Linked DNA regions of Homo sapiens: all the other regions are linked to region 2. Evidence: promoter capture Hi-C in human tissues and cell types (Jung and others, 2019). All regions are on one chromosome and are shown on one strand. Each heading gives the region's core, a stretch centred on a gene start or on the middle of the fragment in contact. The rest is flanking DNA. Distances are from core to core; before and after follow the strand shown. Region 1 overlaps XRN2 (5'-3' exoribonuclease 2). Region 2 holds the start of NKX2-2 (NK2 homeobox 2). Region 3 has its middle 30 kb from the start of XRN2. Region 4 has its middle 13 kb from the start of XRN2.

The links. Contacts are between HindIII fragments. The study calls those that stand out against the background at their distance.
Region 1: a contact is called between a fragment that was not itself captured here and the fragment with the promoter of NKX2-2 in region 2, in 2 of the 25 tissues and cell types used here (heart right ventricle and thymus).
Region 3: a fragment that was not itself captured here is called in contact with the fragment with the promoter of NKX2-2 in region 2 in 3 of the 25 tissues and cell types used here (dorsolateral prefrontal cortex, lymphoblastoid cells and spleen).
Region 4: a contact is called between a fragment that was not itself captured here and the fragment with the promoter of NKX2-2 in region 2, in 5 of the 25 tissues and cell types used here (dorsolateral prefrontal cortex, heart right ventricle, lymphoblastoid cells and 2 more).

Annotation. Positions count from the first base shown.
Region 1 is chr20:21,318,548-21,321,656 of GRCh38, forward strand. The region is part of intron 1 of XRN2 (5'-3' exoribonuclease 2); the gene reads left to right. Among named protein-coding and RNA genes, the nearest start is that of XRN2, 17 kb to the left of the region's middle. The HindIII fragment of the contact is 8,876 bases long and covers 1-3,109 here.
Region 2 is chr20:21,512,705-21,515,794 of GRCh38, forward strand. NKX2-2 (NK2 homeobox 2) reads right to left here and starts at 1,360. Exons shown (of 2, transcript NM_002509.4): 1 at 707-1,360. The coding sequence starts at 965. RefSeq lists an enhancer at 3,057-3,090. The HindIII fragment of the contact is 15,862 bases long and covers 1-3,090 here.
Region 3 is chr20:21,271,424-21,274,668 of GRCh38, forward strand. No RefSeq gene overlaps it. Among named protein-coding and RNA genes, the nearest start is that of XRN2, 30 kb to the right of the region's middle. RefSeq lists enhancers at 1,356-1,405, 1,416-1,465, 1,526-1,575. The HindIII fragment of the contact is 3,627 bases long and covers 151-3,245 here.
Region 4 is chr20:21,288,302-21,291,544 of GRCh38, forward strand. No RefSeq gene overlaps it. Among named protein-coding and RNA genes, the nearest start is that of XRN2, 13 kb to the right of the region's middle. The HindIII fragment of the contact is 9,345 bases long and covers 1-3,243 here.

The sequences.
Region 1 (3,109 bases), core at 576-3,075, 190 kb before region 2:
AATACTTCTGAAGAGATATTTCTTAATCTAAGCATTTGCAACTATAAATTTCCATGTGAACACTGCTTTATATGTATTCCATAACATTTTGTATATTGTGTCTTCATTTGTATTGATCCCAAAGTAGTTTCTGGTTTCCCGTTTGATTTCTTCCTAGATCCCTTGGTTATTTTGGACTGTGTTGTTTAATTTCCACATATTTGTGAATTTGCCAATTTTTTTTTCTCTTAATGGTTTCTAATTTTATTTCATTGTGGTCAGAGTGTATACTTTGTATTATTTCTATGCTTTTACTTTTTTTGAGAGCATATTTCGTGTACACCTGAGAATGTATATTCTGTTAAGTGTAATGTGCTAGAAATATCTGTTAGGTCTCTGTTGATAGTGTTGTTCAAATTATCTGTTTTCATGTTGATCTTCTGTTTTGTTCTATTATTGAAGGGGGAGTATTGAAGTCTCCAGCTATCATTGTTGAATTGCCATATGTCTTGTTTTGTGTATTTTGGTGCTGTTATTAGGTGCACCTGTATTTTTAATTGTTATATCTTTTTCTTGATGGATTTACTTTTTATCGTTATAAAATGACCCTCTTTACCTCCAGTAACATTTTTTTATTTGTTTTAGTCTGTTTTATCTGATATCAGTATAGCCACTCCAGTTTTCTTGTGGTTGCTGTCTGCATGATTATCTTTTCTCATCCATTTACTTTTACTCTTTTGGGTCTTTGAATCTCAAGTGTATCTCCTGTAGATAACGCAGAGTTAGATCATGTTTTTAAAATCCACTTTGACAAGCTACCTTTTTGTTGGATTGTTTGATCCATTCACATTTTAATGTAATTATTGATAGAGTTACATTTTACTTTTTGTTTTTTGTATGTCTCATGTCATTTTTCTCTATTTCTCCTTTGTGCTTTCTTTTGCAATGAGAGGATATTTTCTAATATAGCATTCAAATTTTTTTCTTTTCTTATTCAGTGGCCAGTTACTAGAAGGATTCTAAATTCATTAGTAATTTTTTCCACTATATATTTTTTCAAAGTCATTGTTCTAGAGCTTACCCTATGTATCTTGCTAGAATCAAATTCAGATTTATACTTGCTTAGTTTCAGTAATACATGCTAAAATTTATTGAACTTTACTGCTATATAGTTCAGTTCCCATCCCCCCTTTGTATATTATTGTTATATATATTACATATATTGACATAATCCAACAATACATTTTTTTAAGAGTTACTTTACCGTCTGTAGCCATTTCCTTAGCCCACTGCAACTTTGTTTCCATCCACCCCTTTTTGCTATTAGGGCAAATATATTACACATATATTACATTCTGCCTTATAAGCTCAACATTATACTATGTAATATTTATACAATTGCTTTTTAATTCAATTAAGAGAAGAAAGGAGGGAAAATATACTTGTGCTTATTGTTTGCATGGACTTGAATTACCATCTAGAGTCACTTGCTTTAGTAACTTTAGTAAACTTTTTGTAACTTTATAGCTTGAAGAACTTCGTTTAGTAGTTTTTGACAGTGTGGTCTGTTAGCAATAATTCTCTCAGCTTTTTATTGATCTGAGTCTTTATGTCACCCCAGTTTTGCACTATAGCTTTTCTGGACTGAGAATTCTTGGTTGACAGGGTTCTTTTGTTGTTGTTTGTTTGTTTCCACTTCTTTACTGCTTTTTATGTTATCCCACTACCTATTGGCATCATTTATTTATTTATGTATTTATTTATTTATGTATTTATTTATTTATTTATTTTGAGACGGAGTCTTGCTGTGTCACCCAGGCTGGAGTGCAGTGGCACGATCTCGGCTTACTGCAAGCTCCACCTCCCGGGTTCACGCCATTCTCCTGCCTCAGCCTCCTGAGTAGCTGGCACTACGGGCGCCTGCCACCACATCCGGCTAATTTTTTGTATTTTTAGTAGAGACAGGGTTTCAGCGTGCTAGCCAGGATGGTCTCGATCTCCTGACATCGTGATCGGCCTGACTTGGCCTCCCAAAGTGCTGGGATTACAGGCGTGAGCCACCACGCCCGGCCTTATTTATTTATTTTTGAGATGGAGTCTTGCTGTCACCCAGGTTGGAGTGCAGTGGCGTGATCTTGGCTCACTGTAACCTCCATCTCCCGGGTTCAAGCGATTCTCCTGCCTCAGCCTCCCGAGTAGCTGGGGCTACAGGCATGCACCACCACACCTGGCTAATTTTTTGTATTTTTAGTAGAGACGGGGTTTCACCATGTTGGCCAGGCTGATCTCGAACTCCTAAATTGTAGATCTTTCCAGGAATTAGTTTCTGACGTCAGTGTTTGGTATTTGTGCTAACACCAGGAGGGCTCCTCCCAGCCATCTTAATCCCGAGTTTTCTTCTGCAAACTAGCCTGTAGTCCAGGCCTGTATCTTCATTAGATCTATTAGTCTCCTCCCAGTTGCTCTTCACCATAGCTTGCACTGTTTTGGTTTGTTTCTTTGTATTTGAGACAGGGTCTCACTCTGTTGCCCAGGCTGGAGTGCAGTAGTGCGATCTTGGCCCACTGCATCCTCAACTTCCGGGGCTCAGGTGATTCTCCCACCTCAGCCTCCTGAGTAAGCTGGGATTACAGGTATGCTATCACACCTGGCTAATTTTTTGTAGAGATGAGGTTTCACCATATTGCCTAGGCTGATCCCAAACTCCTGGGCTCAAGTGCTCTGTCTCGGTGTCCCGAATTGCTCTGATTATAGTTATGAGCCACTGTGCCTGGCTGTGTGTGTGTGTGTGTGTGTGTGTGTGTGTGTGTGTGTGTGTGTGTGTAGGGTCTCATTTTGTCACCTAGGCTATAGTGCAGTAGTGGCACAATCAGCTCACTGTAGTTTCCAACTCCTGGGCTCATGCAGACCTCTGCCTTAATCTCCTAGGTAGCTGGGACTACAGGTACATGCCACTGTACCTTCCTGATTCTTGATGGGGCTCCAGGACTCTTATGTTCCCCAGGCTGGCCTTGAACTCCTGGGTGCAAGTGATTCTCCCGCTTCAGCCTCCCAAAATGCTGATTACAGGCATGAGCCACTGGGCCTCATTCTACTTTCACTGTTCTTGAGAACAGCTTTTTTTTGTTTG
Region 2 (3,090 bases), core at 110-2,609:
GGCTCGCCTTTCAAGGGGCTCACATAGTGTGGGTGAGAATTTGGGGGGGGAAGTGGCACTGAAGATCATCGCGGGTTAAGGGCTCCGGCGCCCTTAAGCGGTTTCCTCTCCGGCGAGACGTGGGCAGATTTTTAAAAGAAATACCCCACAATCCCAGCATTGATCGGCTCGGCCATTTAAGGCAGGTTTTTGGGGGCTTTCGTTTCTGCTTTCGGGCCTTCTAGACACCCCCTGCACTGCACAAAGCGTCCTCTATGATCGCGCAGGGGGCAGGGTGAGCTATTTATACCCGGGCCACCCGAAGCCTCCCCACCCTCCACCCGTACCCGGACGAGGCTCGCTGGCTACCTCCAGGGCGCCAGGCCAGTCCCTCCCAGCGGCCGGAGTCCGGGGGCTGCGGCTGGAGCCATCGGTCCGGGTTGACATCATATACCAGCCCCTGGGAGGTATAGCCCTTCTCCCTCTTTCTCCTTAACTTCTCGCATTGAAAAAAATTTTGGAGACCAAGTTCTTTCCCGGAACTAAGGAGGCTTGAAGAGGAGGGCAGAGGACATCCTATACAGGTGTTAAAAATCTTTCTACGGATCCGAGTGAGGGGGTCCGGGCTTACATGGCCCCTTCCCCTTTCACTCCCAGCGTCCAACCCGGGCTGCGGCTGCAGGAATGGAGGGGACCACGGCCTCGGCAGCCAAGTTTTGCTACTTACGGGAGTACTGAAGGCCCTCGGTGCTGGCCAGCCAGCGCGTGTACGGGTTGTCGCTGCTGTCGTAGAAGGGGTTCTTCAGGGGCAGGCTCTGCACCGCGTCCAGGGCGCCCTGCCCCAGCGGCCCGGCCCTCTTGGCTGGCTCGGGCCCCTCGTTCTCTTCCTCCGGACCTTCGGCCACAGAGCCCTCCTCATCGTTGGTGTCCGGCAGGTCTAAGATGTCCTTGACCGAAAACCCCGTCTTTGTGTTGGTCAGCGACATGGTTCGAGACCCCAAAATTTATGTCGCAAAGTTGTAGCTTCACTTGGTCAATTCGTGGCGCTCCCCTGCCCCGGCGGGCGGGGGAGGGGGGAGTTGGGGGGAGGGACTGGGGGAGGGGAGGGGGGAATTGGCTTTAATTATTGGGATAATTATTATTTTTAAAAAGAGAAAGAAACTGGGGATGGGGAGGAAAAAAATGAAGCCCAACCCAGTGCCTCTCTCTGTCTTCTTTGAAAGCACGCGGAAATGGACGCAGGAAGCCGGGCGGCCTGCGCGCCGAGCGCCGCGGGCCCCGGCCTTAGTTTCTAACTCCAGGAGGGGTGCCAAGGCGGCGTCAGCTCGGGCTCCGGCGGCCGCTCGGCGCGCGGTGGCGGCTGGTGGCGAGGAAAAAATGGGCCATTGCCCGAGCGATCAGTCCATATAAGGCTGGGCTCCACTCACGAACCTGGGGAGGCGGGGAGAGGGGGAGAAAGAGAGGGAGGGAGGGAAAGAAAGAGGGAGGGAGGGGGAGCGAGAGAGGGAGCGGGAGAAGGGTGGAAAAAAGGGGGAAGAGACATTAAAAACGCAAAGGTTGGCCACGTGTGGGCGGGTCTTGGGAGTCAAGTGGATGAAGACAGTATTTGCAGATGTGAAATTGTGGGTTTTGGGGAGCTCCGCGCTCCCAGCCAACGGCCCTCTAGAGCAAGATGAGAGGTGTAACGTGTCAATTAATTGCAAAGACGGGGCGAGCCTTTTTTTTTTTAAACCCAGTATTTACATACAAAGGGCCACCGCGTCGCTCGCGAGTCCACACACTTGAAAGGGCCGTTTTAACAAATTGCATCTTAAAAAAGGTGGGGGTGGGGAGGAGGAGGGGAGAAAACAAAACAGAAACCAGGAGGAGGGAAAAAATCCTCTTTAACATTCACCGGTTCCTACCTCCCCGCCCCCGCGCGCCCACCCCCGGCAAGCCGGAAAATTGGCGATTTGTGGCGCCTTTGGAAAAGGGGGAGGGGGCGAAGGCCGAGCTGCGGAAATCTCTCCTTTCCATCGTTGGTGGTTGCCTAAACAAGATCCGGTTCAAATGGCAAGAGCCCAACTTCTGTAAGCCTCCTAGGTCAATATTTTGGTTGAGGCTTAAGGATGAGTGCTAGAAATGACAAGGCAAGTAATTGATTCCAGTTAACCGCGAGAGAGCCCAAAACCCAGGAGAGAGCTCCGCTCCGGGCCGGCCAGAGCCACCACCAAGCGACCCGCCCCCTTCCAGCCGCCCTTTATTTGCTAAAGACTCATTTATTTCCTTCACTCCGCCTCCCCCCACCTCCCACCCCCAACCCCCCGCCTCCACCTCTCTGCGGCCAAGGAGGACGCGCAGTTCACTTTCTGCTTTGCGGGCGGTCCCGGGGAGGGCGGGGTAAGAGTGAGGAGCTCCAACTTCGTCTGGGGTCGGACCCTGGCCCTGCTGCCTCTGGGCTCTGCGGGCCTCTTTCCCCGGGTGGAGGAAAGGGCAGACGGCCCTGCTCTTTCCTGCCCTCTATTATCCCTCCCTCTCCGGCCCCCTCCCTCTCCAGCCTCTGGCTAGAGGTGGAGCAGCGGGAAGGCGGCGGGGCGGGATTGCGGGGGTGGGGGTGGGGGTTGTGTCTCCAGCCTGGGTGAAGACCCAGAAAGCTGCGGGGGAGGGGGGTCGCTGGGTGGCCCGACGATGCCTCGTTTTCTCCCCAGTTTTCTTCTCCCACGCGAGTTCTTTAGTGTGGTCTCTTTTTGGACGCCTTGGGTGCGTTCGGAGTACGCGCTCCACGTTTCCAGGTTAAGTCAGGTTAGTGTGAAGTTTCCAGCCACTCTCGGCTCTGGGAACTGAACTTTCCCGGGACTTGCACTTCCTCCTCGGCGCTGGGGTTGGAAAAGACCACGCCGCATTTGCCACCCCTTCTTCTAGTTAAAACTTTTTTGGGGGGGGGGTGCAGGGGTGTAGATTGGCTACCTGATGCTCGTTCGCCCCAGAGGAGTGTCAGGAAGGAGCTTTGTCTGGGGGCGGGGAGGGGCACAGAAGGCCACCCCTGCGGGGTCCAGGTCTAGTCTTCCCACAACCTGGGCTCCTCCGCGCGGGCCAAGCTGAGCGCGCGGGCACCGGGTCCTCCTCGCGCGC
Region 3 (3,245 bases), core at 714-3,213, 240 kb before region 2:
ATTCTTGGAGTAGTCCTGTAATAAGGAAACTCTTGTTTTCCCCATTTTTCATTGAACGGTTTGATCACTGCATTCAACTGAGGTGCCTTGATGTGGCCAATGAGCAAATAATTTTGAGACACGGTCTTATCAAGTACCCTGTTCCTGTGGATGTTGGCCTACGGTAAATTTCCACTAACCATAGCTCCTTATCCCTGTGTGTGGTAAGCTGTCTGTTTAGTGACCCCCAACCCCCATAAGCCTCTCCTTGTATCTAATTCCTTTGAAGCTGGCTTGGCTCTGTGACTGTGGCAGAAGTGACATAGCACTGGTTCTAGGCCTAAGCCCTGTGAAGTTCTGGCAGCTTCTATTTTTGCACTTTAGGGGAAGCCAGCTGTCACGTAAGAAGGCCAACTACTCCGAGACAACCATGCTGTGAGGAAGCCCAAGCTCACCACATGGAGAGGACATGTGGAGAGAACCCAGGAACCCAGGCAACAGCAAGTGACTCCTTTCAGCCCCCAGCACTGGAGCACCAGAGGTGATGCCACAGGACCAGAGAGGAGCACCTGCCCGAAGCGCAGACTTGGAGCAAAGAAGCAATTGTTGTTTTTTATGCTCCATGTTCTGGGCTGCTCTATTACACAGCAATAGATATTCAGAACTGCGTTTTCCATCTGGCTGAGTGGAGTCCTGAGCAGACCAGCTAGGTCCCCTGATGCCTTCACCCTCCTTTCCTCTGTGGTCACTTCTTTCCTTATGGCCTAAGTCCCCCAGCCAGCATCTCCAAAGAACAAGGATGGCCCCTCCCTAGTCACAACACTATCATCGCATGAAGACCATTGACACTAACTCAAGAATGCCATCCAATATATAGTCCATTCACATTTCCCAGTTTGTACAAACATCTTCTATTCTAGCATATTTTTTTTAACTCAAGGAGCTACTTAAGGCTTCCTCATTGCATTTGGCTTTCATGAATGTGAAGAATTCCTGAAAGGCATTTATTTCACTAAAGAAAAAAGATCCTCACTAGAAGTCAGCTGGGAGTAGTGACTCATACCTGTAATTTCAGCACTTTAGGAGGCAGAAGTGGGAGGACTGCTTGAGCCCAGGAGTTTCAGACCAGCATGGCCAACATAGTGAAACCTCATCTCTACTAAAAATACAAAAATTAGCCAGGCATGGTATCATATGCCTGTAATCCCAGCTACTCAGGAGGCTGAAGTGGGAGGATTGCTTGGGCCAAGGAGGTTGAGGCTGCAGTGGCTGTGATAGTGCCACTGTACTCCAGCCGGGGTGACAGAGCCAGACCTTGTCTCATGGTGTGATTATTACCTGGGCAACTCTTTGCTCCTTTCTGAACTGGGAACAACACCTGTTCTACCTATTTCTCAGGTTATAAGTTTCAGTAAAAGTCATTTACTTGTGGCGAACACTATTCTAACTGTTCTTGTCTATTTTAAAATGTGCTTTCACAGAAACTGTTTTCATTTCTGGTCACACATACACACCTGGTGTGCTCACTGTTTGGCATATTGGCTTCTTCATGGGCCTCATCCACATTCTCACTTTATTTCTTGATGGCTCATGTATTTCTCTGTATAGTAATTCCATGCTGTGCCTTTCTCCTGTGGAAACGTCTGGTTCCTTCAGTGGACCTTTTCTGGGTAGAGATGCATCACTCTGCAGGGTGTTGCTTAGAAGGAGTGAGACCTGGAGTGGGAGAAGGGAAGAGGAAAGTAAAACAGTTTTTGCAGCGCAGTATCAGGAGAGAGGGATAGTAACTCAACACAGGCCTTTCCTGCCCCTGTTGGTGGAAGAGGCAGTAGGACATTTCCAGAAACCCAGAGGAGTCCAGGATATGTGAGTCTAGAAACGCTAGTCATGGCATTGAAATCAATTTTTTGTTTGCATGAAGAACCGGGCATACACACACTAATTCTCCTTGGTTTGGGCATTATCTGCTCCCAAGCTGAGTAAATTCACAAGCTTCTTATTGACATCGCAGGGGAGGATGCTGAAGGTTACTGGTGAGTTTATACTGCCTTTACATGGTGTGAAAGTCATTATTTTACTGTAATAAACGTTAAACTGTTCACAAAGATATGCAAAGGTTGACGGTGATCTCAATCCTTTTATGTTGTGAGTCCCCATTCTGCCAGTCCTCTAAGGAGGGAAAGGAACTATGACCCTTGGTTTAGATGGCTCCCCTCCTCCATGCTCTCCCCCAGGAGACCATAAGAAAACAGAAGGCTGTGGGACCCCACTGGCTATAACTAGGACCTTGGGAGTCTGATGTAAATGTTTACCTATTTTTTCCCAAGGAAACAGCATTGTCAGACCTGGGAAAGGACTTAGAAAAAAGAAGGCGAAAGGACAGATTGCAGTCTCCATCTTCTGTGTGGCCTCAGGGGACGAACCATTGATTAAAAACGGAAGGTCAATATCATCTCTGCTGGGTAAACTTGAGATCCTTGAAGAGCCTCTCAGCCCAGTAGGACTCTCAAGCCCTGCTCTGGAGTGAGCAGAAAGGAGACGCAGTGGTTTCCCCTTGAAGGCTGATCTTGGCCTGAGCTCATCATTAAATAAGAAGCGCGTAGATCTTTACGCTGCCTGTGCTGCCCTGGTCAGAAAGGCATTCGTCACAGCTCCAGGCTTTAATTTCCTAAAGAGGCTAAGGTGAAAGTCATTCCAAGGCTCTCTTTTCAGAAAATGGGAAATGATGTTGGCCCTGAGTCCAGAATAGCACATGGGTGCCTATTTGCATAGCTTGATCACAAGGCTTGTCTGTGACCACTCCTGACCCCTCCATGCTAACTCAGCCTCCATCTGCTGAACACAGCCAGTCCCTTTTCTAGGGCAGCCAAAGCTTTGTTCTGAGATTTCAAAATAGATATCAAATATTATTATAGCTGCAGTTTGGGATCATGGCCAACTTAGTGGTTATAAACATAAGTTCTGAGGTGGCCACATTCCCACTGTGGGGTGGGGGTCCAGGAGAAGCTCCTCCCTCTTTGCCCCCACCCACCATCCCTGAGCCCTTGACCCTCTCCCCAAAAGGATGTTCTGTGGGGCTTTGCATAGTTGTTTGCTTTGAATTCCCTGCCTCCTCACCTGTCAGATGAGACATAATCAGGCGAAGAACCAATATCCCAAGAAGATGGCTCTGAAAACAGAATCAGGTGTAGCATGGGGAACCACTGGAGACAGCAGATAGTCACTCATCTTGGCTTGCCCCATCCAGTGTGAATTTTCTGTGCACA
Region 4 (3,243 bases), core at 295-2,794, 220 kb before region 2:
TGGCCAACATGTTGAAACCCCATCTCTACTAAAAATACAAAAATTCGCCAGGCAGGGTAGTGGGAACCTGTAGTCCCAGCTACTCAGGAGGCTGAGGCAGGAGAATCACTTGACCCTGGGATGTGGAGGTGGCAGTGAGCTGAGATTGTGCCACTGCACTCTAGCCTGGGTGACAGCATGAGACTCCATCTCTAAATAAATAAATAAATAAAAATAGAAAAATGGGCCAGGTACAGTGACTTATACCTGAAATCCCAGCACTTTGGGAGGCTAAGGCAGGAAGATTGCTTGAGCCCAGGAGTTCGAGACCGGCCTGGGCAACAAAACAAGACCTCATCTCTACAAAAAAAAATTTTTTTAAATGTAGTCGAGCGTGGTGGTACAAGCCTGTAGTCCCAGCTACTCGGTAGCTGGGACTACAGGATGGCCTGAGCCCAGGAGGTTGAGGCTACTGTGAGCTGTGATTGCACAACTGCACTCGACTCCCCAGTTATGGTCACTCCCCGTCCCTTTGCCCTGTTTTATTTTAGTTCGTAGCACCTATCACAACCCGTCACAGCATGATATATTGTCTTTTCCACCTGTTTGCTGTCTCTCTCTCCCCCAACCTGCCACCCCAAGAAGACTGTAAAATCTATATGAGCAGGCACTTTGTGCTGTCCACCCAGCACCTACAAACACATCTGATGCACATCAGCTGCTTAGTCAGGAGTTGTTGAAGGTAATTAAATGAATGGAGTAACTCCAGGAAGGGAGGCGGAGCCTACATAGCTGAAAACCAGTGGCAATCAGACCATTGATAAATAACAGTTATCAGTGCGTTAAATGCAGATCACCAATGTCACAGGCATTGAGACAAGGGAGAGAGCATCTCATCCTGACTCATGAGAGCTGGAAGGCTCCTTAGAGGTGACTCGGTTTAGCTCCTCATTTTCTGGGTGAGGGTAGTGGGATCTAAAGAAGATGAGAGGCTCGTTCAAGGACATACAGCAGCAGGCTTAGAAGGCAGGCCATGTGACATGGGTCACTAGCAAGAGCTCCAGGCTCTCGGTCTTCTGCAGCAGGGCTGCCTCCTCCGTCAAGTGCAGCATCTTTTAGGAAAGGAGTGTTCCTAGCCTGGCAGTGCAGTTAGGTAGAAATGAATGAGATGTCAGAAACAATATTGACTCTGAATTGGATGTTAAAAGTCAGGCTCACACTTTGAGGGTTGTCTTTGTACTAGACAGAAGGAAAATGCATTTTCTTTGGAGTTTTAGGTCATTTGTTTTACCTTTTGTGGTAGGATCAGCCACATAAAAATATTCCTCATCTTTGGGTGTCATAATATCCCCTTTTTTTTTTCTAACCATAGGCTAACGTGCTCTCTGTAAAAGGTAGTGATTTCTAAGCTGGTTCTCTTTAAGCAAGTGATTCCATGATAAACAGATAGAAACGTGTTCCTGCCATTCACTGGAACCTTTGTTACATTTCTGAGAGCACTCATTAATTTAAGGCATTCTTCTATTGTGCTGGACTAAATTCTACACTATAAGCAGCTCCCACATTGTCAACCATAGCCAGATAATGACTCATTTTTGCATAATACAAGTGTCCCATTCCCTGTTTTAGTTATTATTCAAGTTTATTGACTGATTCTATTTAAGTAACATGTGTTAGGACAAAGAAACACACTAGTCCAGGTGGAAGACTCATTTCAGAAAAGAGTATGGGGATTCACAGAACAGTGCAAATCAGGTTTTTAAAAAATAGAAGAAATGAGAAATGGTGCTTAAACACGTTGTATACTAAATTCCTAATGTATTTTCTCCTTCAAATTGATATCATTGTCTTACTAAGCAAAATTGGCCGTCGGTGATTTAAAAAATGCATAATTCTTCTCCCCTCACCCCCCTCCTATCTGGTTTTAATCTTCATGACTAGCATTACCTTGAAGAAACCACAGCTGAGCCCAGGAGACATTATGGAACCAAATCTTGCCCATGATGATACTACTAACAGGCACAGACTTCATTCAAATTCAGCATCACCCAAATAGATGATTTAAGTTGTTTGCTTAAGCAATGAATGAATAATGAGACGGGATGGGTTGCATTTTTCTTTTTCTTTCTCTTTGTAATTGTCATGAACCATACATTCCAATTTTCCAGTTTGTGCTTCAGTTAAAATCACATCAGTCCACTGAGTTTCTTCAGGCTCTCTAAGAGCCTCTGCTGGTTTCCTCCCTTTTCAAAGGCAGTGACTCTCAGCCATCCTGCAGAGACAGTACATTTGTATCTCCTACAAAGCTTTGCTTATAGTAGATGCTCACCAAATGTTTGTTGAATGAATCTTTGAAGAGAGAATGCCCTCTGTACTCCCCTCCTTTCAAAAAACAAGATTTCTGCCTGGGCGAGGTGGCTCACATCTATAATCCTAGCACTTTGGGAGGCCAAGGCGGGTGGATCACCTGAGGTCAGGAGTTCAAGACCAGCCTGGCCAACATGGTGAAACCCTATCTCTACTAAAAACACAAAAATTAGCTGGGCGTAGTAGCGCACACCTGTAATCCCAGCTACTTGGGAGGCTGAGGCAGAAGAATCACCTGAACCTGGGAGGCTGCAGTGAGCTGAGATCACAACACTGTACGCCAGCCTGGGCGAGAGAGCGAGACTCCGTCTCAAAAAAAAAAAAAGTAAAATAAAAATAAATAAAAAGAAAAGGGGGATTTCTAAAATCCTAGAAACATGTTTGGTATGGCTCTCCTTAGAGACAAATAAAATTTCAAGATGGATAATGTCTGTGAAATTTGTCTTAAGAAGGTAGTGAGTCACACATCCATGCTGATGCCTAACCTAGATCCTGTTGATCCTAACCCTGACCTTTTGGTTGGTCATTGTGTGTCATTGGCCACATGGAAAGCCAGGCAAAAAGCAGCACCGGGCCAGCCTAAGTCCATTTGCAGCCCTGGAAGCACTGTCATGTATGGCTCAGTTGTGGATAAGCAAGTGGTTCAATGGTGAGTGAGCAAGTGAAGCAAGCATTTACCAGGTCAGTGGAAGGCCAAGTCTGGAAAGTGAAATAAGGGCAGACAGTGGAGAGCCAAGGATGCTAGACTCGGGAGTGTGAATTCCACCCTACAGATAACCAGAGAGGCTTCCACATTTTTTTAAAAATTTTATTATTATTATACTTTAAGTTTTAGGGTACATGTGCTCAACGTGCAGGTTTGTTACATATGTGTACATGTGCCATGTTGGTGTGCTG